4 separate regions of the Homo sapiens genome follow, and regions 2, 3 and 4 are each linked to region 1. The links are contacts of gene promoters, found by promoter capture Hi-C in blood cells and fetal thymus (Javierre and others, 2016). All regions are on one chromosome and are shown on one strand. The core of a region is centred on a gene start or on the middle of the fragment in contact, and the rest is flanking DNA. Distances in the headings are between cores, read along the strand shown.

Region 1 (5,879 bases), core at 923-3,422:
AGTCTTTCATTAAAAGGCTTCTCTGATTCTAGGTAATACAAACCAAGGAGAATTAATGTTGAATTTTCTTTGAAGTATATAACGTAGATCCATCCAATTAGCAAATGTCTCTAGTTACAGTTCTGGGGTTAAACAGTAAGAACGCTTGCCAGAGTAAGGGAGTGGGAAACTACATTTATGATCAGCCTTACATAAAACAAATCTTTGAGGCTGGGCGTGGTGGTTCACACCCATAATCCCAGCACTTTAGGAGGCTGAGGGGGGCGGATCACCTGAGGTCAGGAGTTCAAAACTAGCCTGGCCAACGTTGCAAAACCTGTCTCTACTAAAAATACAAAAATTAGCGGGGCGTGGTGGCACATGCCTGTATTCCCAGATGCCCAGGAGACTGAGGCATGAGAGTCGCTTTAGCCCATGAAGCAGAGGTTGCAGTGAGCCGAGATCACACCACTGCACTCCAGCCAGGGTGACAGAGCGAGACTCTGGCTCAAAAAACAAAACAAACAAAAAACCAAATCTTTGCATATAGTAACTATTTGTTGAGTGCCTACTACAAGCAGGACAGAATGCTTTACATATATTCTAACATTTTTTCCAACTCTCTCCCCTGCCAGGTTTGCCCCCATTTTGCAGATATATAAACTGAAACTCATGAAGGTTAAGTAGTTTACTTAAAGTCAGCTATTAATAATAAGTATAGCAGGGGCAGGCTCTGAACTCAGGTCCATTTGACTACAAAACCCAGGTTTAGAATGAAAATGGGGTTGAAACACAGCAGGGTCTAGCCAATTTCAGGGAACGTTAAGATGTTGCCTTTTAACTTTAACTTACAGCTTGAACTTCAAACTGTTTGTTTTAAAATAACTGGTCCTTTACTTATTGCAGTATTTAACAGAGGGGTGCAGACAGAACCATGGTGTTGGGCACCAGACAGACCTGCGTTCTGATGGCATCGCCGCCACTTACCAGTGACGTGACCAGAGCCTCTCTGAGTCTTAATAAGACTTTGCACCCACCTTGCCGAGGGGAATCTGGCTCAGTGTCTGGCACACACACAGCCCCTGGCTCTGTGAAATTGTTACCATTGCAGCCGCCTGCAAACTGCAAAGTGAGGTTGCTGGCTTAGAGGAGAGTTAGGAGGGAACCCAAAGACTAAACCAGCCGGCAGGGTCGTTTGCAGAAAGACCTTCTCCTGACAGCCTCCCCAGCTTATTCTTTTGTTTGTTCTCCCTCGACCTCGGGTTTTTGTTTTATTGTGTTTATTTGTTTGTTTTTGTTTTTTTGGGTTTTTTTTTTAGCAGAAAAAGTCAGGACGCCCTGGGAGTTATTCTGAAATAAACTTTACAATTTAATTTTAATGATCTCCATAGGTGCACAGACCACATTTTGGAGCTTTTAATGTGATTGGATTAATTCTAATTTACCCGCCTGCACCTGGGAGCCTCTCCTGGGACCCTCCGGTCTGCAGCTCATTTTTCCGGACCCCCTTTTATTGTTTATTTGCTTATTTAAATATTTTGTTTTATTCTATTTTATTTAAAACAGGGTCTCGCTCTGTTGCCCAGGCTGGAATACAGTGGTGTAATCTTGGCTCACTGCGACCTCAAAGGCCTGGACTCAAGCGATTCTCCTGCCTCGCCCTCCTCAGTAGCTGGGACTGCAGGCATGCAGCACCACGCCCGCTAATTTTTTTTAGTAGAGACGTGGTTTCGTCACGTTGGCCAGGCTGGACTCGAGTGATCCTCCTGCCTCAGCCTCCCAAAGTGTTGGGATTACAGTCCTAAGCCACCGCGCCAGGCCCGGATACCCTTTTAGAAGGGTTGGCTTTCCCTCAGGCCTCGGCTATCTGCGCTCCCCTCTTAGGGGGTTCCACCTCCTACTCCCCAAACCTCCAAACTCCTCACAAGCACCTAGGGGGGCCAAGAGCGACCGGGGTCGGCAGGTAAGGAAGACCGCGGCGAGCGGCAGGGGGCGCCAGCGCCCGCGTTCGGGCGCTTCACGTCAGCCGCAGAATGTCCTGCAGGGGGCGCCCGGGAGTCGCGTGCCCAACGGGGAAAGCGAGTCAGGTCCCTCGCGCTCCCCGCCCCACGCGCGTGACCAGAGCGCGCTGGCCCGGCCCACCCGGGGCGGTTGTGGTCGCTATATATAAGGTGGGGAGGCCGCCGGCCCGTTCGGTTCCGGGCGTTACCATCGTCCGTGCGCACCGCCCGGCGTCCAGGTGAGTCTCCCATCTGCAGAGACGCGGACGCGCCGGCCCGCAGTTGGCCTGCGGAGCGCGGTGGACGGTTTGGCGCCCACCAGGCGATCAATACTTTGGATTTTTAATTTCTAGATTTGGCAATTCTTCGCTGAAGTCATCATGAGCTTTTTCCAACTCCTGATGAAAAGGAAGGAAGTAAGTTTTAAAAACAATTGAAAATCTTGACTAAAGTTTTCATTTTTAAAGATGAAAAGATGGCACAGATTTTGAACAAAGTATAAAATAAATACAGTTGTTTTGCTGTGTTTCAAATGTTTCATATTGAAGTGTCCAAATGTGTCCCCTCCACCTGTTATTTGTTAGCTCATTCCCTTGGTGGTGTTCATGACTGTGGCGGCGGGTGGAGCCTCATCTTTCGCTGTGTATTCTCTTTGGAAAACCGATGTGATGTAAGTAGGTCTCAATTTATAAAAACGTTTTTGGCAGTGTTTGGATGACTTTTAGTTTATGAAATGTATAAGTTTCCTATTTTTTTCCCATGGATGAGAATGCCAAATTGTGAACTGGGAGTCAGGGTTAAAAAGCATCTTTTATCAGAAAACTCTTATGATATTGTCTACCAATGGGTCAGAAAATGAAAATTAGAAAAAAAAAAGAAAAAATTTAAAAAAACCCATGATATTAATCAAATTAGTTTATTTCTTGTGTTTATTCTTTTACCCATTGGCCCTTCTCCACTCTCTGGCAGTGAAGTAAAGCTTGTTTTTTTTTTTTTAAGTTTTGAAATTTAAAGTTCTTCAGTGGTTTTGGGAGATATATATCATGAAACAATCATTTTAATTAAAATTTTAAATTTTAGCTTATTAGATTTTTACTAATGTGGTAGAATTGATAGATTCAGTTGTCTACGATGAACCTAATCTCAACTTTGGGTAGAAGAAAGTAAAAAACAAAAACATGTATCCTGGAATATGAGGAAAAGATAAACTTGAAACTGTTGGAGGCTGGTGCAGGGCTGGAGAGGGCAGTCCTCTAACCGCTGGCAGAGGAGCCTAGAGCCCTGGAGTTCACCACCTGCAGAGTTCAACCTGCCCCTCCCACAGACTGAGATAAGAACATTATTGCATGTCCTTGGCTTGGCAGTTTCACTCCCATGGTTATTTGGTTTGTGGGATCCTTCCCCAATGCAGCCCAATCAAGAGAATACAGACCTCCTACCCTTTAGGGGAACTGATGTTTAATGTTTGAGCCACACCATGAAACTCCCTTAGAGAATTTTCAATCAATTTTAGTTGCTACTGATGGTTCCTGATCATTAGCAGACACATGCCTTAGTATGAGACTGGTTTTGTCCCTAACATGTTTATAAACCCAGTATCAGTGTTGGTTTAAATTCACATCTTTTAATGTTTAATTGGCTTTCTTTAATTTTAGCCTTGATCGAAAAAAAAATCCAGAACCTTGGGAAACTGTGGACCCTACTGTACCTCAAAAGGTATTGTTAAATTAAAAACAAATGATTTATATTTTGCCCAAACCTTAGCACCTTTGTGAGCAAAATAGATTTAGTACCTTACCCTTATTGTGTAACTTAGATCAATTGTGCCTTCATCGAGTAATTAAAATGAGGAAATTTTAAGAGCCTACTCTATGCCAGGAGCATTGTCCATCCACTCATGAGAAGCATATACACTTTTGGAACTATGGCTCACATAATACCTGGCAAACTTAAAAATCTGGATACCGGCCAGGCACGGTGTCTCACACCTGTAATGCCAACACTTTGGGAGGCCGAGGCGGGTGGATCACTTGAAGTCAGGAGTTCGAGACCAGCTTGGCCAACATGGTGAAATTCCATCTTTACTAAAAATACAAAAATTAGCTGGGTGTAGTAGAACGCACCTGTAAACCCAGCTACTGGAGAGGCTGAGGCACGAAAATTGCTTGAACATGGGAGGCGGAGGCTGCAGTGAGTTGCAGTTGTGCCACTGCACTCCAGCCTGGGCAACACAGCAAGACTGTCTTAAAAAAAAATCTGGATACTGCTAAGTGAAAGTAGGGCACATGTGTTTGATCTTTCCCTCTGATCTCATAACACTTAGGAGCCCAAGGGCTTTGTAAAAAGATGGACTGATAGAAACCAGCTCACATTACTATTTTGTGCATGTTTTAGATATGGAAAGAGGTAGGTACAAACACAATGGTGATGCTTTTTCTAAAGGGGAGTGTGGACAAATCCGAAAGAGGGACATGCAAATGAAAGTCAAATTTTTAACAAAAGGTTTTTTTTTTTTCCTTTTTTCTCTTCAGCTTATAACAATCAACCAACAATGGAAACCCATTGAAGAGTTGCAAAATGTCCAAAGGGTGACCAAATGACGAGCCCTCGCCTCTTTCTTCTGAAGAGTACTCTATAAATCTAGTGGAAACATTTCTGCACAAACTAGATTCTGGACACCAGTGTGCGGAAATGCTTCTGCTACATTTTTAGGGTTTGTCTACATTTTTTGGGCTCTGGATAAGGAATTAAAGGAGTGCAGCAATAACTGCACTGTCTAAAAGTTTGTGCTTATTTTCTTGTAAATTTGAATATTGCATATTGAAATTTTTGTTTATGATCTATGAATGTTTTTCTTAAAATTTACAAAGCTTTGTAAATTAGATTTTCTTTAATAAAATGCCATTTGTGCAAGATTTCTCAAAGATTAGGTATATATTTAAATGGAAGAGAAAATATTTTTATGGGAGAAAAATACATTTGAACCATGAAATTTCATCTTTTAAATAACATCCAGTACAGATTTCTGTGTAAGCTTTTTTTTCCAAGTTCATTCATTCACTAGTAGTTTATTGAGCATCTACTATTTGCAGTATAGCTAACAAAGCCAAAATTTGGTGGGATACGAATAAAAGATGGTAAGTACAATGAGGAAAATGAAGTGGGGATGAGGTTGGAGACTCGCATGAGGACTGACCTTGGAGGAAGTGTAGGATTCTGGAGATGAATTGGAATGCAAGGCATACTGAGATCTGCCCTAAAGATGCCAAGCCAGGCTGGGCGCGTGGCTCACGCCTGTCATCCCAGCACTTTGGGAGGCTGAGGCGGGCAGATCACAAGGTCAGGAGATTGAGACCATCCTGGCTAACACAGTGAAACCCCGTCTCTACTAAAAATACAAAAAATTAGCTGGGCGTGGTGGCGGGCGCCTGTAGTCCCAGTTACTCGGGAGGCTGAGGCAGGAGAATGGCATGAACCCGGGAGGCAGAGCTTGCAGTGAGCTGAGATCACACCACTGCACTCCAGCCTGGGTGACAGAGTGAGACTCCGTCTCAAAAAAAAAAAAAAAATGCCAAGCCATACTGTGATGTTCCTGTGGAGGCTAGGGAGAGGAAGATGGGGAGCCTTGCCAGCGCTCTTCAGAGTTTGGGGCCACTCTTCCCTCTGGCCAATGGTAACTTGAAGGCTGAAGATACATTCATATCCAGCATGCCGCTGGGCTCCCCTGCCTGTCCCTAAAAATGAAATAAGAAGAAAGTTGCTTTTCATTAACTTTTTTTAAAAAAATGGAGATATAATTCACATGTCATAGTATTCACCCATTTAAATTGAACAATTCAGTGGTTTTTAGCGTATTCACAAAGTTGTGCAACCATCTCCATCTACTTTCAGAACATCTTC
Region 2 (5,576 bases), core at 2,874-5,373, 280 kb after region 1:
CAGGGTGAGGTGTGGATGAACCTACAGGAGTGGGCAGAGAGCACTCAGATCTCCCTGCTGGCCATCAATACCCGGCTGAGGGTGAGCACAGCAGAGGAGTCGCTCAACAACCGGGTGGACAAGACGACTCGTCTGGTAGACGCCTGCCAGCCTCTGCCCTTGGTCACTCCAGTGCTCATGTTACCAGAAAGGGGTCCTGATCTAGATCCCAAGACAGGGTTCTTGGATCTCACACAAGAAATAATTCGAGGCTAATCCATAAAGTGAAAGCAAGTTTATTAGGAAAGTAAAGGAATAAAGAATGGCTACTCCATAGGTGGAGCAGCCTGAGGGCTGCTGGTTGGCTATTTTTATGGTTATTTCTTGATTATATGCTAAACTAGGGGCAGGTTATTCATGAGTTTTCCAAGAAAGAGGTGGGCAATTCCCAGAACTGAGGGTTCCTCCTCTTTTTAGACCATATGGGTTAACTTCCTGACGTTGCCATGGCATCTGTAAACTGTCATGGCACTGGTGGGAGTGTCTTTTAGCATGCTAATGCATTATAATTAGTGAATAATGAGCAGTGAGGTCACTTTTGTTGCCATCTTGTTTTTAGTGGGTTTTGACCAGCTTCTCTACTGCAACCTGTTGTATCAGCAAGGTCTTAATGACCTGTACCTTGTGTGGACCTCCTATCTCATCCTGTGACTTAGAATGCCTAACCTCCTGGGAATGCAGCCCAGTAGGTCTCAGCCTTATTTTACCCAGCCCCTATTCAAGATGGAGTTGCTCTGGCTCAAACACCTCTGATGCTCACTCCACGGGCCCATGGCTGGAAGAGTTACGGTAGTAGGGATAGAGGCTCTGTAGAGGGCCAACAGCAAGGGCCCCCTCTGACCAAAGCTGATCCAGTTACTGCCACTGCTGAATACCCGACCTGTTGATGGCAGAGAACGAAGATGACCCCTTGGTATGGTCCTACTTCTTGGAGAGTCTAGCTAGACATTTGCTGGCAAGTTGATTCCATCAGGCCTTTCTCACCCTGCAGGGGACAGTGATTGATTCTTTTTTGGAGTTGATTCCATCAGATACCATCAGTTTGCCCTTCCTATGTCTTTGCTGGTATCATCCAAGGGTTCACAGAGTACCTGATTACTGACATGGGGTTCCATGTAACAGCTTTTCAGATGAGAGCCCATTTCACAGTGGAGAAAGTGTGATACTAGCACCCAGCACAGGGTTCTCTGGACCCACCACGCACCACATGGCCTGGCAGCCTAAAGGAGGATGCAATGGCCAGTGGGCCTTTGTCCCCTCAGCTGGAATCAGCTTGTGGTAGATGTCCCTTAGATAGAGCCCCCAGAGACATCCAGGGACTCTGAATGCAGGTATTTCCATAGAGAACAGGAGGCCAGAGGAAGCAGGAGTTCAGGCCTGGTAGCATGTGTGCAGTGGGACACTAGATGTCTCAGAGCAGGAATCTGTATTTTTAAAGCCTCTTAAGGGATGACAGGTACTCTCCTAGGGTCGAGAACCACCGGGGGGGGGAAAGAGGATGAAACATGGAGGAGGAAGAGCTGGTTGTGAGTCCTGGTGCCATCACTTGCCCAAGGTGACCTCCCTTCGTCACAGGCTGAGGTGAGGATCACAGTTACTGGCTTACTCATTTATACTCTTTTCTCATTAGAACTGGGATCAACATATCAGCTAGGATCACCGTGTGTGAACCACTATTAAATGAGTTAATATACATAAGGTATATAAAACAGTGCCTCAATTGCACAAGAGCACTATAAAAGGATTAGCTATTTTTATGCAAGTGATTGTTACTGTTAACAGAGGTTGAGGCACAGAGGAAGTCACTGATGAGGCCCAAAAATGCCTAATTCTTCCTGTCCATTGGCTCCTTGAGAACCCAGCAGCAGGCAGCAGGCAGCAGGATGACCATTTCTTGCTTTCTTTTTTCTCTCCACTTTTTATTTGGAAATAACTTCAAACTTACAAAAATTGCAAACATAAAATAGTGCAAGGAGCATTTATATACCTTTTACTCAGATTCACGCATTGGAATGTTTTACTCCCATTTGCTTTATTGTTCACGTTCTATTTTTTTCTTTGAGATGGAGTTTCGCTGTTTTTGCCCAGGCTGGAGTGCAATGGCGCGATCTCGGCTCACTGCAACCTCCGCCTCCCAGGTTCAAGCGATTCTCCTGCCTCAGCCTCCCTAGTAGCTGGGATTACAGGCGCCTGCCACCACGCCCGGCTAATTTTTTGTATTTTTAGTAGAGATGAGGTTTCACCATGTCGGTCTGGATGGTCTCGATCTGTTGACCTCGTGATCTGCCCACCTCAGCCTCCCGAAGTGCTGGGATTACAGGCGTGAGCTACTGCACCCGGCCCTATTGTTCATGTTCTTTATCTTTCTTCCTATCTCTCTAAATTTGTGGAATATATATACATACATATTTATATATAGATACAGATGTATATCCATATATAAATATTTATTTATTTATACTATCGTATATTATATATGCATTCCCATTTTTTTTTGGAATTAAAGGTGAGTGACATCATGGCCTTTAATCCTCAATACTACATTATACCAAATACTAAATTATAATACCAGGAGTACTAAATACTACACAAAGGATGATCTCTTATATAACCACAGCACAGTTGTCAGCCTCACACATTTACACTGATACAATATGTTATCTAATCTACTGTTCATATGCCAATTTTATCAGTTGGTCTAATGATGTTTTTTTCCAGCATTTTTCCCTCCAGCACAGAATCCCCTGTAGGGTCAGGCTGCATTTAGTTGTCCTGTTTCTTCAGCTTTCCTTCATCTGGAACATTTCCACAGCCTTTCTTTGTCTTTTATAACCTTGACATTATTGAGGGACACTTCCCTTCCCCCTGTTGTTTTAATAGGACGTTCCTCATGTTACATCTGTCTGGTGTTCCCTTGCAAGCAAGGTTGTGTGTTCTTGGCCGCCATGGGTCCTGTTGTGCAGGGCCACCATTCCTAATAAGGCAAGAGTGCTGGTGGCTGATGAGCCCAGGGCTGCTCTTGCTCACTTTGCTGACAGCACTCGACGGGGAGTCAGCAAAGCCAGAAGTGCAAATAAAGCCATAAGCTTCAGGAAATCTTGGGTGTCATTCCATGTAAACAATAGGACTGGACGAATGGAAAACTAGGCAGCTGGAAGCACTGTCAGAAATTCAAGCCAGTAAAACCAGGCAGAGCAATGTCATTCCACGATTACAGCCAGCTGCATATTTCAGTGCTAAAATGTTTGATTTCTGAACAATGACACTCACTAGTTATAAAATAGATGGGATTGGTTTATGCATATTTTATCTCTGAAGTTGCTACTGTCATATCCATTTTACAAGTAAGGAAACTGAGGCTTGGGGGGCAACTACAGTAATGCCACATGGCAAGCATTGGCGCTAAAGCTAGAATCCAAGTTTTGGTCTAAATGCCCTATGCTATCTCCATGAAAGCAGTGCTTTGCATGAGAAGTCCTCAAGTTTTAGTTTGAGGGAGGTGGGCTGTAAATCAATGTGAAGCCATTGATAAACACTGATTATCTACAAATGTTACTAACTTCCTGGCCTTTTTTCTTTTCTTTGCTTTTCTTTTTCTTTTTTTCTTTTTTTTTTGAGAAAGAGTTTTGCTCTTGTTGCCCAGGCTGGAGTGCAATGGTGTGATCTCAGCTCACCGCAACCTCTGCCTCCCGGGTTCAAGCGATTCTCCTGCCTTAGCCTCCTGAGTAGCTGGGATTACAGGCATGCGCCACTACGCCCGGCTAATTTTGTATTTTTAGTAGAGACGGGGTTTCTCCATGTTGGTCAGGCTGGTCTTGAACTCCTGACCTCAAGTGATCCACCTGCCTCGGCTTCCCAAAGTGCTGAGATTACAGGCGTGAGCCACCATGCCTGGCCCCTGCTTTTTTCTTTAATCTTCGCTCTTGACAAATCATAGTGAAATGTCTTGGGTTCATTGTCTTGGGAAGTCTGAGGTCTAGGGCCCCCTTTTGATGGAGGTGGAAGGCATTTACATGGTGAGAGGGCCAGTGGATACCATCTCAGGTCTCTCTTGCTCTTCTTACAGAGCCACTAGTCCTACTGAATTAGGGCCTCATCCTTATGATCTCATTTAAGTTTAGTTACCGCCTAAAAACCTATGTCTAGATATAATCCCACTGGGAATTATATTTTCAACACATAAACTTCTGGGGACACATTCAAACCATAGCATGACTTTTGATTTTGAAGGCTGACCTGGGTCTGTCCGATGTGTCCTCATGGCCAGACTCAAGCCGTGCACTCCTGGAAGACTTCCAGAAAATTATGCTGTGCTCTTCCTGATGCAGAATGTAGATTCTTCCCTTGGTGTTACCTTGACCACTTTGTCAAGTTGGTTTCTGTCATATTTCTCCTCCAAAAAGCCACTGTTTTTTCCATTGTGATTAATGAGTATTTTGTAGGGAGATATTCTGGCATTGTACCAATATCCTGTTCCTCACTGAACCTTTACCCACCATCCTTAGCAATTATTGACATCTTCCTCTATCATGGTTGCCACATCATAGAATAAGATCTATAATCTCCCATTTCTGTCATCCTATCTACTTTTATTAGTTGGCATTCACTGTAAGGAAGGGCTTTCCCTTCTCACCCACTTGTTTATTTATATCTTTAAGGCCTCATAGATTCTCATTTTATCCAATGGATTGTAAATCATCACTATCATTATTTATTTCAAAGGTCAAATTTTCCAAATTTGGCCAGTGAAACTCCCTTCAGGCTGGCTCCCAAGTCCTTTTGACACGTCTGTATCAATCTTTGAATACTTCTTTACTTTCTGAAACAAGATATTCCAAACCCACCTTATACTTCGTACTTATTTATTTAATTATTTATACGCTAAGGTCTCATTGATTCCCATTTTATTGAATGGCTGTAACCCATCACTATCATTATCTATTTTAAAGTAACTGCTATTTTACCTCTAGTCTCATTTCCCTAAAATTCATCCAATATTTGCACCAGATTAATCTTCTAAAAGCATAGCTACTGTCCTTATTTTTTGACCATGCTGGCATCTTTGAAGAAGCAGGAAAAAACCCAAGCTTCTCATCCAGCATTCAAGACGCTCCCCACTCTGTCCCCATTTGCCCTGGCCATCAAGTTTCCCAAGACTCTCTGATGTGTTTCTCCGTGGATGTTATGAGCACCTCCTCATCCTCTCATCCTCCCTCCCTCCCTCCCTTCTTTTTTCTCTCCTCCCTCCCTCCCTCCCTCCCCTCCCTCCCTCCCTCCCTTCCTTCCTTCCTTTTCCTTTCTTCCTCCCTCCCTTCCTTTTCCTTCCCTCCTTCCTTCCTTTTCCTTCCTTCCTTCCTTCCCTCCTTCCTTCCTTTTCCTTCCTTCCTTCCTTTTCCTTCCTCCCTCCCTTCCTTCCTTTTCCTTCCTCCCTCCCTCCCTTCCTCCCTCCCTTCCTTCCTTCCCTCCTTCCTTCTTTCCTTCCTTTTCCTTCCTTCCTTCCTTCTTTCCTCCCTCCCTCCCTCCATCCCTCCATCCCT
Region 3 (5,939 bases), core at 109-2,608, 320 kb before region 1:
GGCGCCCCGTTCCTCTTCAGAACTAAACAGCAGCACCTGGGTGGGAGGAAGGCGGCACTGACGCAGGGAGCTCGCTGGACCTTCTGCTTCAGCCTCCCCTCAATGGATCTTGGGTTGAGGGGAGGAGAGAAAACTCCTCCCCATCCATCCAGGCTGGGGCCAGGTGTGTGGACGAAGGGGGTCAGGTTGTGTCTGGGGGCCTCTGAAAGGAGCCCCTCTCCCCAGCATCAGCTGTCATAGTTGAGCTCTGTAGCTGAGGATAGGGTGGCCTCGCTTGTGATAATGGAGTCGTGTGAGGGCAGCCCAGGCTGGGGAGGCAGGACGAGCCATACCAGGTCATACTCCTTAGGGATCTTGAGCAGCAGGGTGCGGCATCCTCGGTTGTTGGACAGGATGAGGTTGACCTGCTGCAGAGGCTGCAGCTGGACCACACGGAGCACAGTGAGATGCCTGTTCAGGACCTGCAGACACCTGTCTGACAGCAGCTGGATGATGATGGGACTGCTCCTCTCCTTGGGGCCTGGCCACTCCATCGCTGGGGAAGGGATAATTGGGCCGGGTAGTTCAGCAGATGTCCCCAGGTCCCCGCCTTCAGGTCAATTCCTCTGTGAGTCTGAGCAGGCGCCCTAAAGGTGCCTTGGCTTTCCTCTCACTCTGTAACTTGGTTCTTTCTCCCAGACTCCTGTCTCTCCCCTCCTCCGTCCCTCCTCCCTCCTCTGCCCAGCCCCTGCTCACCTGGCACTCCATCTTTGGCTGCTTCCTTCTTCACGCTCTCTTTGAGTTTCTTTTGTAGCTTCTTGTGTTCTCGGCCCCGGAAATAGGCCACCACTCCAGAGAGAAGCAGACTCACTGAAGTGGATCAGAAGGAACAGTGAGGAGGGAGCCCCTCACCTAGAGCTCCACTGTGGCTTAGGCTATGGCCCCTCCCTTCCAGAGGTTCCTTGAGCCTGGTCTCAAACGGTACCAAATAGCCAGCCCCTCAGGCCAGCAGGAAATGAGGGGCAGGGCCAGTCTGCAGAGAGGCTGCCTAAGAGCTCACCTAAGGGAAGGCAGCAGAGAGCAATGATGGTGATGGCAAAACCAGGGCTGCTGCCTTCAAAGAAGTCAAGCACAGTCAGGGGTGCACACTGGGGCAGGCCGTCAGTTGTGAGCTGCTTAGGTTGAGGGCAGGGTGCACCTGAGGGAGAGGGCAGGGAAGACCTCAAAGTCTGAGGATCCCGCTATGTGGCCAGACCTCTTTCCCCTCTATCCTATAAAGGACCAAGGTATCATCTGTCTTCCCCAGGCCCACCTCCCTGAAACTGTCTCCCTCAAAAAGTCCCCATTCATTTCCTGTCTCTTGGCATCTACCCCATCCACCCCTTCTTGACTGTAGGGTGTAGCTTGTGTGCTAGTTGAGGTCCCTGCTGTGGGAGCCAGCCAAATGCAGGCCTCCTAGCCCAACACAGAAGGTGCCTGGCTCCCTGGACAGCACCAAGTGATTCCCCCGCACCCTCAATCTTGATCCTTCTCTGGCCACTGTCACTCACTTGTGTTCTCCCACGGCACTCACCTTTATGCCAGACAAAGACATTGGGCTGCAGGGCACTGGGGTCAATGTTGATAACAGCGACCAGCACGTCCCGCAGGGTGGTATTTCGGATGTCTTCAATCTCCTTCTTGGAGAACAGCCTAAGTTGGAGGAAGTAGAAGTCACTGGGATGGGAAGGGGATGCAGGCCTCCAGCAACCCCAGGCCCAAGGACCCAGGTGAGAAAAGAGACCCAGAGGGGCTGGGTGCAGTGGCTCATGCCTGTAATCCCAACACTTTGGGAGGCCAAGGCGAGTGGATCACTTGAGGTCAGGAGTTCGAGACCAGCCTGACCAGCATAGTGAAACCCCATCTCTACTAAAAATATTTTTTAAAAAAATTAGCCGGGCATGTTGGTGCATGCCTGTAATCCCAGCTACTTGGGAGGCTGATGCAGGAGAATCACTTGAACCTGGGAGGTAGAGGGTGCATTGAGCCAAGATCACGCCACTGCACTCCAGCCTGGGTGACAAAGCTAGACTCTGCCTCAAAAAAAAAAAAAAAAAAAAAAGAAAAAGAAAAAGAAAAAGAGAAGAGAAGAAAAAAAGAGAGACCCAGAGGGGTTGGGAAGGGTGTGGTGGGCTGACTGGGAATCAAGGGCTCATAGGGGCTGTCTAAGGCTAGACAGAGGGTCTGGGGCTCAGGCTGAGGAGCAGTCTGAGGTGGGGGCCCAGGCAAGCCTTACCCATTCCTGGTGTTCTCAAACCAGTAGCGGTCACCATCCCGCAGCCGTACAAACTGGTCGAGGACAATGGCACTGAACAGGGGTCCAGGGTCCCCATGGCTCTCCAGGAGCCCCCCAAGGAGCAGCTCTAGCTGGGATAGGTCCTGGTTGTACAGGGCAGCTGTGGCCTCCAGCACCTGGGGCACCACAGGAGATAAGGGGTGAGCGTATGTTTGCTGCGGAGGGCAGCCACTGTTGCCCCATCCCTCGGGCACAGAACCTCAGCCGCTGCCTGGCTGCTGCTCAGGCCTGATTTCCTCTTCTTAGGCAAGCCCCCTCAGGCAGGACAAGTCTGGTGGAAGGATCAGTGTGTCCCTACCCACGGTAACACCACGGTCAGGTGCCCTAGGACCATATCCTGTGACCATCACCAGCCTGCCTGACCTCAATGATTAGCAGCTTCAGGGGCACACAGCCCTTGGGGTGGGACCCTGCAGCAACAGGACAATGGCACCCAACCCAGAAGCCACCCTGCAGGAATGGTACAATGCAGTGGTTAGGAATATATTCTGGAATCAGATGGCTGAATTTAAGTCCCTCCTCTATGATTTACCAACTATGTCATCAGTAAAATGGGGAAAATGATTATACATACCTTACAATATTATTATGTAGATTAAATGAGTCAACATATGTAAAGGGTTTGGAACAGTATTGCCATAGGAAAGCTTTAGCTGCCATTATTATCATTACTATTCCTGACCTGGGGGTCCACATTAGGGTTGAGATCACTCCAGTTCCTTGGGATGTCCAGCCCAAAGGCCAGCAGGGCCTGGCTATAGCTGGGCAGCCCCATATCTCGGCCACGTTGGATGCTGCTGGCCACATAGTCTGTACGGGAGAATTTGCCAGGGCCAGGCCAGTAATCTGAAGAGGAGAGAAGACTAGACTATGGGCTTTGTCCTCTCCATCCTTTTTTGCCCTGCAGCCTTGTATCTGACTATTGGCACTACGGTTCTTCCCTCCTGGCTACCCCCAGTGATCCACATGAGATCTGTGCCCATGCTGACCTTGCCTTGCTGCAAGGCCAATGTCACCATGGGTGATCAGAGCCAGTTTTTCCAGTAAGACCCTTCCTCTAAGACTCAAGACTGTTCTAGTCACCAAGCAGTAAATTCCCTGTCCTATGCCTCCCTAGTTTCAAGACAGGGCTGAATGAAAACCTTTAGAGACCTAATTAAGCACCAAAGAGATTGTGGTACCACCCCTCCCCAATACTCAGACATAGTTAATTTAAAATAAAAGCAACACAAAAGTGTAAATTAAGCAAAAAAAAAAAAAAAGTTCAAAGTTCATTTTCTTCTTATGGCTCCTTGAAGTCTGTGTTTGTATCTGTGTTCCTGCATCGTGAGCGCCCTAGGTCTGCTATTGATGAACCCAGAGGGATCCTCAGGCTTCCTGGTCCCTTACCATCCACCCCTTCTGGCTCTGAGCTCACCCCTCAGATCTTCAACCACTATGTTGTCCTCCAACTCCGAAATCTGGGAGGCCATTCCCAGCAGCAGCTCATTCACCTCCTGGGTACTGTTCAGATTGGGGTTCTGGAAGTAAACAATGCACTCAAGATAGGCCTCTACCCAAAACTCGGTCTCTCTCAGCCTGGACCACTTTAGTACCCCAGGACAAAGGGCCCTTGGCCAGTCCCAGACTCTCTTGAACTGTTGTCCCCGGATAATTTCCTCTACCCTTCATCTCCCATGAACCTGGGGCAGCAACACTCAAGAACTGGGATTGTTGCTTTTCCCAGCCTGTGTGAAGAGACTGACCTTGACCCATCTTCCCCTGACCCTGACCCCAGTCTGACCTCCCGAATCCAGTAGTTGTTGCAGACCCTGAGAGCTTGGGAGCTTTGAAAACCCTTGTTCAGGACCTTCCGGAAATGACAGCTGGCATTTCTGAAATTGAGAACAAAGGATGTGGTGAGGGAATTTGGAGAAGAATCAAAGATGGGGTTGAGTGGGCTGAGGGACTCAGTGGGGGTTCACTAGGATTGAGCAGTGGCCCAGGAACTTCCTTGAACACGGCAGAGATTTGGTGATGTGCGTTTACTGAAGATAGAGTGCGCTCCTAGTCCAGGTAGGGTGGGGAGAGGAGGGAAGGGAATGACCCAGCTGCTAGACAAATCCTACACCCAGCCACCAAATTTCAGCCCTTAGGAGAGCTGGAGAGATTTCCCTACTAAGCCTACACATCTTACCCCAGGGTTCTGTTTCAGGGCCCCAAATTTTTGCTTCCCCTTCTCTAGTGAAACTGCGAAGGAGTGTGAAAGGCCCCAGCCCCCAAGGCAGCTCATTCTGCACCTTTCTTAGTGTGGTGCCCCTCTCTGCCAACCCCTCCCTCACCTCATGTAGACACCAGGGGGCACCATGGTAGAGAAGAACTGCTCAGAGGCCACCACAAATTCCGGGGAGATGCTGGGGTCTAGGAAAGGACGGTATCCTGCAGGAAGGAGACGGTGATGATGGGGAGACAGGCTTCTTGCCTCCACATCCTCCCATCACAGGCACCTGTCTCCTTCCCCTCAGGATTCTCCGCACAGGTGTCCTCCTTCCCCGCTCCCTCACCTGTATACTCCGGGAGTGTTTTCTGCAGGAAGCTGGGCAGCCACTCATACACAGCGATGTTCTGAGGGGCAGAGAGGGGCGAGGGGAGGCACAAGTTGGATGGTGTGGGGCCTGGAAGGGTCTGAGCCCAAGGACGGCTTCCGTGTGGAGATGAGACCAGGAAGGGTCAATCATGGGAGAAGCAACTCAGACAGGAGCAGTGTGAGGCCTGTCCCCACAAGGAACCAGGGGATTTGAGGGAGTGGGGGTTGGGGAGGTGATAAATAATCATCACCAGCCAGATTTCTCCTATAAACAGCGCGTGCCTCCCTATCATTTACAGGGGCTTCCCTAGACCTCGGCTGTCTGGGGAGGGGTTTCTGGGTGGCGGTTGTCCACAGATGGGGAGCTCCATGGGGCAGCGGAGTCTCCCGTGGGCTTGCACGCGGAAGGGAGGACGTCGCGGGGCGCGGACGGCTGACCTGGTAGGTGGCGATGACCCTCTTGCGTGCGTGCTGGAACAGCTCCTCGTCCTCCCAGTCTGGGTGCTGGCGGGCCAGCCTCTGCGCCCACAGGTTGTGGTAGCGGAACCAGAGCAGGCCCAGCGCCTGCAGGAAGGGTTCCCGGTTCCCTCTCTCTGCCCCGAAGGCTGCATCCGACGTGGGGGCGCAGGGGAGGAGACGAGCGGTAGCGTGATCGGGGGAGCCCACACTCGCAGACCCCCAGCCGGCCCCGTCCCGCCCCTGTGGCCTCACCGTACAGCCCCCGGGGCCCGTTCTGCCCGGTGGCGGGGTCGGGCGCCGCCCACATGAGCAGGGGGTTCTGCGAGTCTCGGGGGAAAGCGGGGTCGGGCCCCGACGCCAGCTGTCCCCCCGAGAAGCTCCGCAGCGCGTCGCTCCAGGAGTGCGAGGAGCCATAGATGGCGCTGCCGTCCAGCCAGCCCGTCACCTGGTTGGCCTGCGGGGCACGCGGCGGGTGAGCCCGGGTCGAGAGGCGGCGGCGGGCCAGGGAAGGCCGGGGCCCGGCGGGTGTCCGCGGCTGGGGAGTGGGCGCCTCTCCCCTCCAGGCCCTGCCAGGCCCGAAGCCCAGGCCCCACCTGGCTG
Region 4 (6,141 bases), core at 711-3,210, 270 kb before region 1:
AGTTCCCTTTCAAGGCACTGATCTTCTGCCTTCCACCCTATATTCATTTTGCAGGCCTCACGGGGGTTGTGCTGCTCCTGATCCTGGCCATCATGTATGTCTTTGCCTCCCACCACTTCCGCCGCCGCAGTTTCCGGGGCTTCTGGCTGACCCACCACCTCTACATCCTGCTCTATGTCCTGGTGAGGGCTTTTGGCTGTGAGCCAGGCCAGGAGGGTATGGGCAGGACATTTCCAGGGAGGCAAGGAGAGCTGGGACATTCATTCAATTTCTAGCTATTTGAAGCATCCTCTTCACTTCTCGACGTCCCTCTTTGAAGGTGGAGATGATAGTACAGGGCTCTCCATTAGGATGACCCCAATATGCAGCACTTGGAAGCTCGGCTCCCTGGCATGGGTTTTGCAGTAGCAGCCCTGCCAGACTGATCTCCATTCCTCGCAGACACCTCCACCCCACTTCTGCCCAGCTAGTCTTTCCCCACTTTGGGTGGCTGGTTTTGGCTCCTGGGTGGACTACCTGCACCCAAGAGAGCATCACCCTTTTTGAAGAAACTTATCTTAAATGGGTTCTGCCACTTTTGTTCTGATCCTATTTTTGGGGGCATTAGTCACACCTGCTAAGTGCCACCTGTACAGTATATAAGCTTGTTCAAAATGACTTCAGTTGGATTGTTGATCTAATGAATTTTTATTTTTTATTTTTTGAGACAGAGTCTCGCCCTGTCGCCCAGGCTGGAGTGCAATGGCATGATCTCAACTCACAGCAACCACCGCCTTCCGGGTTCAAGCAATTCTCCTGTCTCAGCCTCCTGAGTAGCTGGGACTACAGGCACGCACCACCATGCCTGGCTAATTTTTGTATCTTTAGTAGAGACAGGGTTTCACCATGTTGGCCAGGCTGGTCTCGAATTCCTGACCTCGTGATCCACCCACCTCGGCCTCCCAAAGTGCTGGGATTACAGGCGTGAGCCACCGCGCCAGGCCAATCAAATAGATTTTTAAGACTCTACCTATCCCCTTTCCTTCTCCTTAACCTTGGCTCCTGCCTCCCTCTCTCCATGTTGCCTCCCTTCTCATGTTCCCTTCACCCTCCCCTGGGTTTCTCATCGGCTGCCTAGCTGGTTAGTTCCCGAGCTGATTCTGTGTCCCTGTGTTGTGGCTCTGCTTGTCTGCCTTCCTCATGAGCAGAGGCAATTCCCTAAAGGGTACTCTGAGGGCCTCACTTAGAAGCTAAACCAAATCCCAAGGCTCCAGCTGTTCCCTGCAGCAGAACTGCATACAGGGCTCTCCTTTGTGCCGAGACAAAGAGAAACTGCACCATGGCCTCGGTCAGGTTGGCTCCTGCCATCTGACCTGCCTTCTCTCAGGTGCAGTTCTGTCCTCACTGACAGATAGGAGGGTCTGTTTCATCTTGCCTGTTGCTCAGCATTTCACAGTTCTGAAGATGACTACTTAGCCTTGGCTTAGGATGTTTCCTAGAACTGATGATATGCGTTTCCTAAGAAACATCTCTTTCTTTGGAAGCTATGACTAATTTACCCTCTCTCCTCCTCTTCCCAATAATGAGTGGAGCCCTAGCATTCTCGGCTACTGCTTCTGTTGGGGGTGGAAATGACGTTCTTGTTCCTGGTGATAAAGCAGCTACTTTGAACTAGATGAGAGATCCAGAAGAGTGGCCAGGCAGGCTCCCTAAGACCCAGAGCCCTTTCTGATTTGTCCTGGGGTGTAGGCATCACTAGGATTCCAAGCCACCCTTCCTGCCAGCAGGAAAGTCAGGGGTTCGAAAGGTGTGGCCGGGCACAGTGGCTCACATCTGTAATCCAGCACTTTGAGATGCCGAGGTGGGTGGATCACCTGAGGCCAGGAGCTCAAGACCAGCCTGGTCAACATGGCGAAACCTCGTCTCTACTAAAAATACAAAAATTAGCTGAGTGTGGTGACGCACACCTATAGTCCTAGCTACTCAGGAGGCTGAGGCATGAGAATCGCTTGAACCCAGGAGGTGAAGGTTGCAGTGAGCCGAGATCATGCCATTACACTCTACCCTGGGCAACAGATGGACAGCCTGTTTAAAAAAAAAAAAAGAAATAAAAAAGGAAAAAAGAAAGGTGGAGGCCTCTATGCTAGGCTATCCTCACCAGCAGTTTGGGACAATCTCATCTCAGGGAGATCAGGGCAAGAGCACCCTCTTTGTTCCCACTTGTCCCAGGCGTGACCACTTGACTTCAAGCAGAAAGATAAATTACAAGTAAAGGACCCCAGTATAGACTAGACCCTGGGGAAGGATGGCCAGGCTTCTGATCCAGGCAGAAGAGGGCAGGGCTAGCACATCAGAGGCTGAGCTGGCTGAGCCACCACCCCATCCCACCAGCCAACAAGGAATCTGCAGCAGCCTTGTGGTTTAAAAGGAAAGCCAGCACAAAATAGGGTGTAGAAACAGAGCAGCATGACGTCACCCTGCCATTGTACTCAGCCTGTTTGGATGCTCAGAAAGCCTTAGGGGTGGGTGTGGGCTCCACAATGAAACAGTGAACTTGGGGAAGAAAGAGCCAGTTCAAAGAAGAGCTCAGAGAGGTTTAAGTTAGTCTTGTAGGGAAAGGTTCAAGAATCTAGGAAGACTTAGCTGGGGGAAGGGAACGCCTGAATGGGGAACCAGAGTTCAGTTTAAAAGCTATCTGTTGGCCGAGTGCAGTGGCTCGCACCTGTAATCCCAGCATTTTGGGAGGCTGAGGCGGGTGGATTACCTGAGATCAGGAGTTGGAGACCAGTCTGGCCAACATGGTGAAACCCCGTCTCTACAAAAAAATTAGCCGGGAGTGGTGGCATGCGCCTCTAATCCCAGCTACTCGGGAGGCTGAGGCAGGGGAATTTTTTGAACCAGGGAGGTGGAGGTTGCATTGAGCCAAGATCACACCACTGCACTCCAGCCTGGGTGACAGCGAGACTTCCATCTCAAAAAAAAAAAAAAAAAAAAAAAAAAAAAGCAGCTATCTGTGTATCTGTGGAGGGTCTTTTATGTACTAGCTCTCTGTAGGGCCCAGCAGCAGAAGGGGAGACTCTAATCTCTTCCTTAGGAACTTAGGATTCGCTGTGACAAAAAGTGGCACATGCATGAAATGATCAAAATGAACACTTGATATAGGATTAATTGCTGAGCGGAGTGTTCCAAACAGTAAGTTATAGGAGTTCACTGAAGGGAGTTTCACTTGGGCTAAATTGGCTAGGGAAGACTTTGAGGAGAAGACTGGACTTGGGCCAAGGGTCTGGGGGAGGTAAGCTAAGCTTTGACAGGGCAGAGTGGAAACTGAAGAGCAATCCAGGTAAAAGGAAGGGCATGAGCACAGGCAGAGGTGGGAATGGTGATAGGATATTCAGGAGGCAGAGGGGACAGGGCTGGCTGCAGATGGCCATAGGGCATTAGGTGGTGGCAGGACATGCTGCTGGTGATCATGTGGCAGCTGCAGTTGAAACTGAGGGGCTGTGGCTCAGCTGAGAGGCCATGCCACATGGCGGAGCATAGAAAGAGATGAGCAGAGGGTGACAAAACCAGGCTTGGGCAACACCCATGACTGGGGGTGGCAGAAGGAATTAAGCCAGTGGAGGAGATGGAAAGCGAGTGGCCCAAAGTGGGAGAACCAGTAGAGCATTGTTGCAGAAGTGGCGAGAAGGAGGTGGTCACTAGTGCCTCAGGCTTCTAAGAGTAGGAGCCAACATGGCCTGAAAAGATATATTTTACCCATTTGTGGGGCTGCTGGGCCCTCAGTGGGAAGGTCCTAAGGAGAGGTGGACGCAGAAGTCAAACTGAGCCAGACTCAGGAGCAAGCAAGTGGGAAGAATGTGACCAAGTAGTGTCTGACCATGTTAGACAAACTTATTAGGGAAAGGACCAGAGCTGGATGATACTTGTCAGTTATTACATGGAAAAGGGAGACTAGTTAGGTATTCTTAGCCTGGAAAAGGAGAGGATAAACTGGGGAAGCGCCTTTCCCCAACAGTTACTGTGTGCCTATCATATGCCAGGCAGAAACTGCTAGGAGCTTATAATGGCAAACAGTCCCTACCCCTTCAGTCCAGTGGGGAAAACGACAGTAAACATGTAAATGAATGAGGAAGCAAAAGTACTGTTGGCCGCGCGCGGTGGCTCACACCTGTAATCTCAGCACTTTGGGAGGCCGAGGTGGGCAAATCATTCGAGGTCAGTTCGAGACCAGCCTGGCCAACATGGTGAAACCCCATCTCTACTAAAAATACAAAAATTATCTGGGTTTGGTGGCAGGTGCCTGTAATCCCAGCTACTCGGGAGGCTGAGGCAGGAGAATCTCTTGAACCTGGGAGGCGGAGGTTGCAGTGAGCTAAGATCATGCCATTGCACTCCAGCCTGGGTGACAGAATGAGACTCTGTCCCCCCAACCCCCAAAAAACAAAAGTACTGTGGATGACAACGCATGCACTAAGAGAGTTAACAGGCAGATGTGGTAGAGAGGACTGAGGGGAGGCCTGAGGAGGTGGTGTTTCTACTGAGACCTGAAAAATGAGATGGAGCTAGCCATGGGAAGAACCAGGAGAAGGGCATTCCAGGCAGGAGATGCAAAGATCCTTAAGCAGAAAGGACTGGCCGTGTTTGAGGAACAGGGAGGGGAGAACGGCTGGCAGGCAGAAGTCAAGAGTACTTGTGAGGCCTTGTAGTGCAATGGGAAGGCCACCAAAGCTTTTAAAGCTGGGGATGAACAGGATAAAATGAACTTTAAAAAGTCACACTGGCTGCCTTGAAGAGACAGGAATTACAGTGAGACAAGACCAGTAGAAGACCTACTTCCACTGGAAGGCTCCTGCATGAGTCCAGGTGACAGGTGACATCACTTGGTCTAGGGTGGTGTCAGGGATCTAGAAAATACTCTAATTCCTCATGGAATGCTATGGAGGATGGAGTTGGGAATGGTGAGGTTTTGCAACCTAGAAGGAGCATGGTACGTGGTGAGGTGGGGGCTGGATATACCAGCGGGGAAGTATGGAGGGTCTAAGGCCTGAGCTGGCCCTGTATTCTGCTATGGGCATCGCTAGGTCTGAGCAGAGCTCTTTCCTCCATCTAGCTCATCATCCATGGTAGCTTTGCCCTGATCCAGCTGCCCCGTTTCCACATCTTCTTCCTGGTCCCAGCAATCATCTATGGGGGCGACAAGCTGGTGAGCCTGAGCCGGAAGAAGGTGGAGATCAGCGTGGTGAAGGCGGAGCTGCTGCCCTCAGGTACCAGCCTGGCAGGAGATCAGCTTGGTGACACTGAGGGAGCTGACCGGGCAGAGGCAGAGTCTAGACCGCACAGTCTCCTGGTCGGGCCCAGTGGAGCTGGCAGGTGCCTTGGGTGGCAGGGACAAAGGAGCTGGTAGGGGCAAGGCGCAGTGGCTCACGCCTGTAATCCCAGCACTTTGGGAGGCCAAGGCAAGTGGATCATGAGGTCAAGAGATCGAGACCATCCTGGCCAACATGGTGAAACCCTGTCTCTACCACAAAAAAAAAATACAAAAATTAGCTGGGTGTGGTGGCATGCACCTGTAGTCCCAGCTACTCAGGAGGCTGAGGCAGGAGAATCGGTTGAACCTGGTAGGCAGAGGTTGCAGTGAGCTGAGATCGTGCCACTGCACTCCAGCCTGGCAACAGAGTGAGACTGTGTCAAAAAAAAAAAAAAAAAAAAAAAAAGGAAGGAGGGAGGGAGGGAGGGAGGAAGGAAGGAAGGAAAGGAAAGGAGGGCTGTTTGCCAGGGGACCTGAGCCTCTCTCATCGCAGAGAGCAGAGAAGCTCAGGCCAGGCTGCCCCTTGCCTGGCTGACCCTCAGCCCCAGTGCTGCCTGGGCCCCCACAGGGTGAGCTTCTGATGGGGGAGGCCTCCTTTGTCATATTCCAGAAGCAGAGCTGAGGCTGTGGGTGGGGAGCTCTCTGGAGGCCACATTGTTGCTGGGTTCAGGGCAGCAGCTTCTCACCCACCATCCCTCCCCAGGAGTGACCCACCTGCGGTTCCAGCGGCCCCAGGGCTTTGAGTACAAGTCAGGGCAGTGGGTGCGGATCGCTTGCCTGGCTCTGGGGACCACCGAGTACCACCCCTTCACACTGACCTCTGCGCCCCATGAGGACACGCTTAGCCTGCACAT

Evidence for each region. Contacts are between HindIII fragments. The CHiCAGO score rates a contact against its expected background, and 5 or more counts as called.
Region 2: a fragment that was not itself captured here is called in contact with the fragment with the promoter of COXFA4L3 in region 1 in 1 of 17 cell types (monocytes); the score reaches 5.7 in monocytes.
Region 3: a fragment that was not itself captured here is called in contact with the fragment with the promoter of COXFA4L3 in region 1 in 4 of 17 cell types (fetal thymus, naive CD8 T cells, non-activated CD4 T cells and 1 more); the score reaches 6.0 in fetal thymus.
Region 4: a contact is called between a fragment that was not itself captured here and the fragment with the promoter of COXFA4L3 in region 1, in 17 of 17 cell types (M2 macrophages, monocytes, erythroblasts and 14 more). The highest score is 19.8, in M2 macrophages.

The regions. Positions count from the first base shown.
Region 1 is chr15:45,428,438-45,434,316 of GRCh38, forward strand. It overlaps COXFA4L3 (cytochrome c oxidase associated subunit FA4L3), which reads left to right and starts at 2,173. Exons shown (of 5, transcript NM_197955.3): 1 at 2,173-2,218; 2 at 2,333-2,395; 3 at 2,564-2,649; 4 at 3,635-3,695; 5 at 4,511-4,903. The coding sequence starts at 2,360. The coding sequence ends at 4,579. MIR147B (microRNA 147b) reads left to right here and starts at 4,613; the gene lies at 4,613-4,692. It overlaps LOC107987223 (a long non-coding RNA gene), which reads right to left. Exons shown (of 2, transcript XR_001751510.2): 2 at 5,032-5,713. RefSeq lists a silencer at 2,116-2,195. The HindIII fragment of the contact is 4,531 bases long and covers 1-2,956 here.
Region 2 is chr15:45,707,791-45,713,366 of GRCh38, forward strand. All of the region lies in intron 1 of LOC105370802 (a long non-coding RNA gene), which reads left to right. It overlaps LOC124900365 (small nucleolar RNA SNORD71), which reads left to right and starts at 3,025; the gene lies at 3,025-3,083. The HindIII fragment of the contact is 2,001 bases long and covers 3,124-5,124 here.
Region 3 is chr15:45,105,793-45,111,731 of GRCh38, forward strand. DUOX2 (dual oxidase 2) reads right to left here. Exons shown (of 34, transcript NM_001363711.2): 6 at 5,592-5,793; 7 at 5,319-5,485; 8 at 4,858-4,918; 9 at 4,636-4,732; 10 at 4,098-4,188; 11 at 3,732-3,834; 12 at 2,997-3,160; 13 at 2,255-2,430; 14 at 1,553-1,671; 15 at 1,040-1,177; 16 at 736-849; 17 at 333-535; 18 at 1-36. Among named protein-coding and RNA genes, the nearest start is that of DUOX2, 5.4 kb to the right of the region's middle. RefSeq lists an enhancer at 4,948-5,774. The HindIII fragment of the contact is 3,201 bases long and covers 1-2,959 here.
Region 4 is chr15:45,155,748-45,161,888 of GRCh38, forward strand. DUOX1 (dual oxidase 1) reads left to right here. Exons shown (of 34, transcript NM_175940.3): 28 at 55-182; 29 at 5,090-5,243; 30 at 5,991-6,141. Among named protein-coding and RNA genes, the nearest start is that of DUOX1, 29 kb to the left of the region's middle. The HindIII fragment of the contact is 2,638 bases long and covers 642-3,279 here.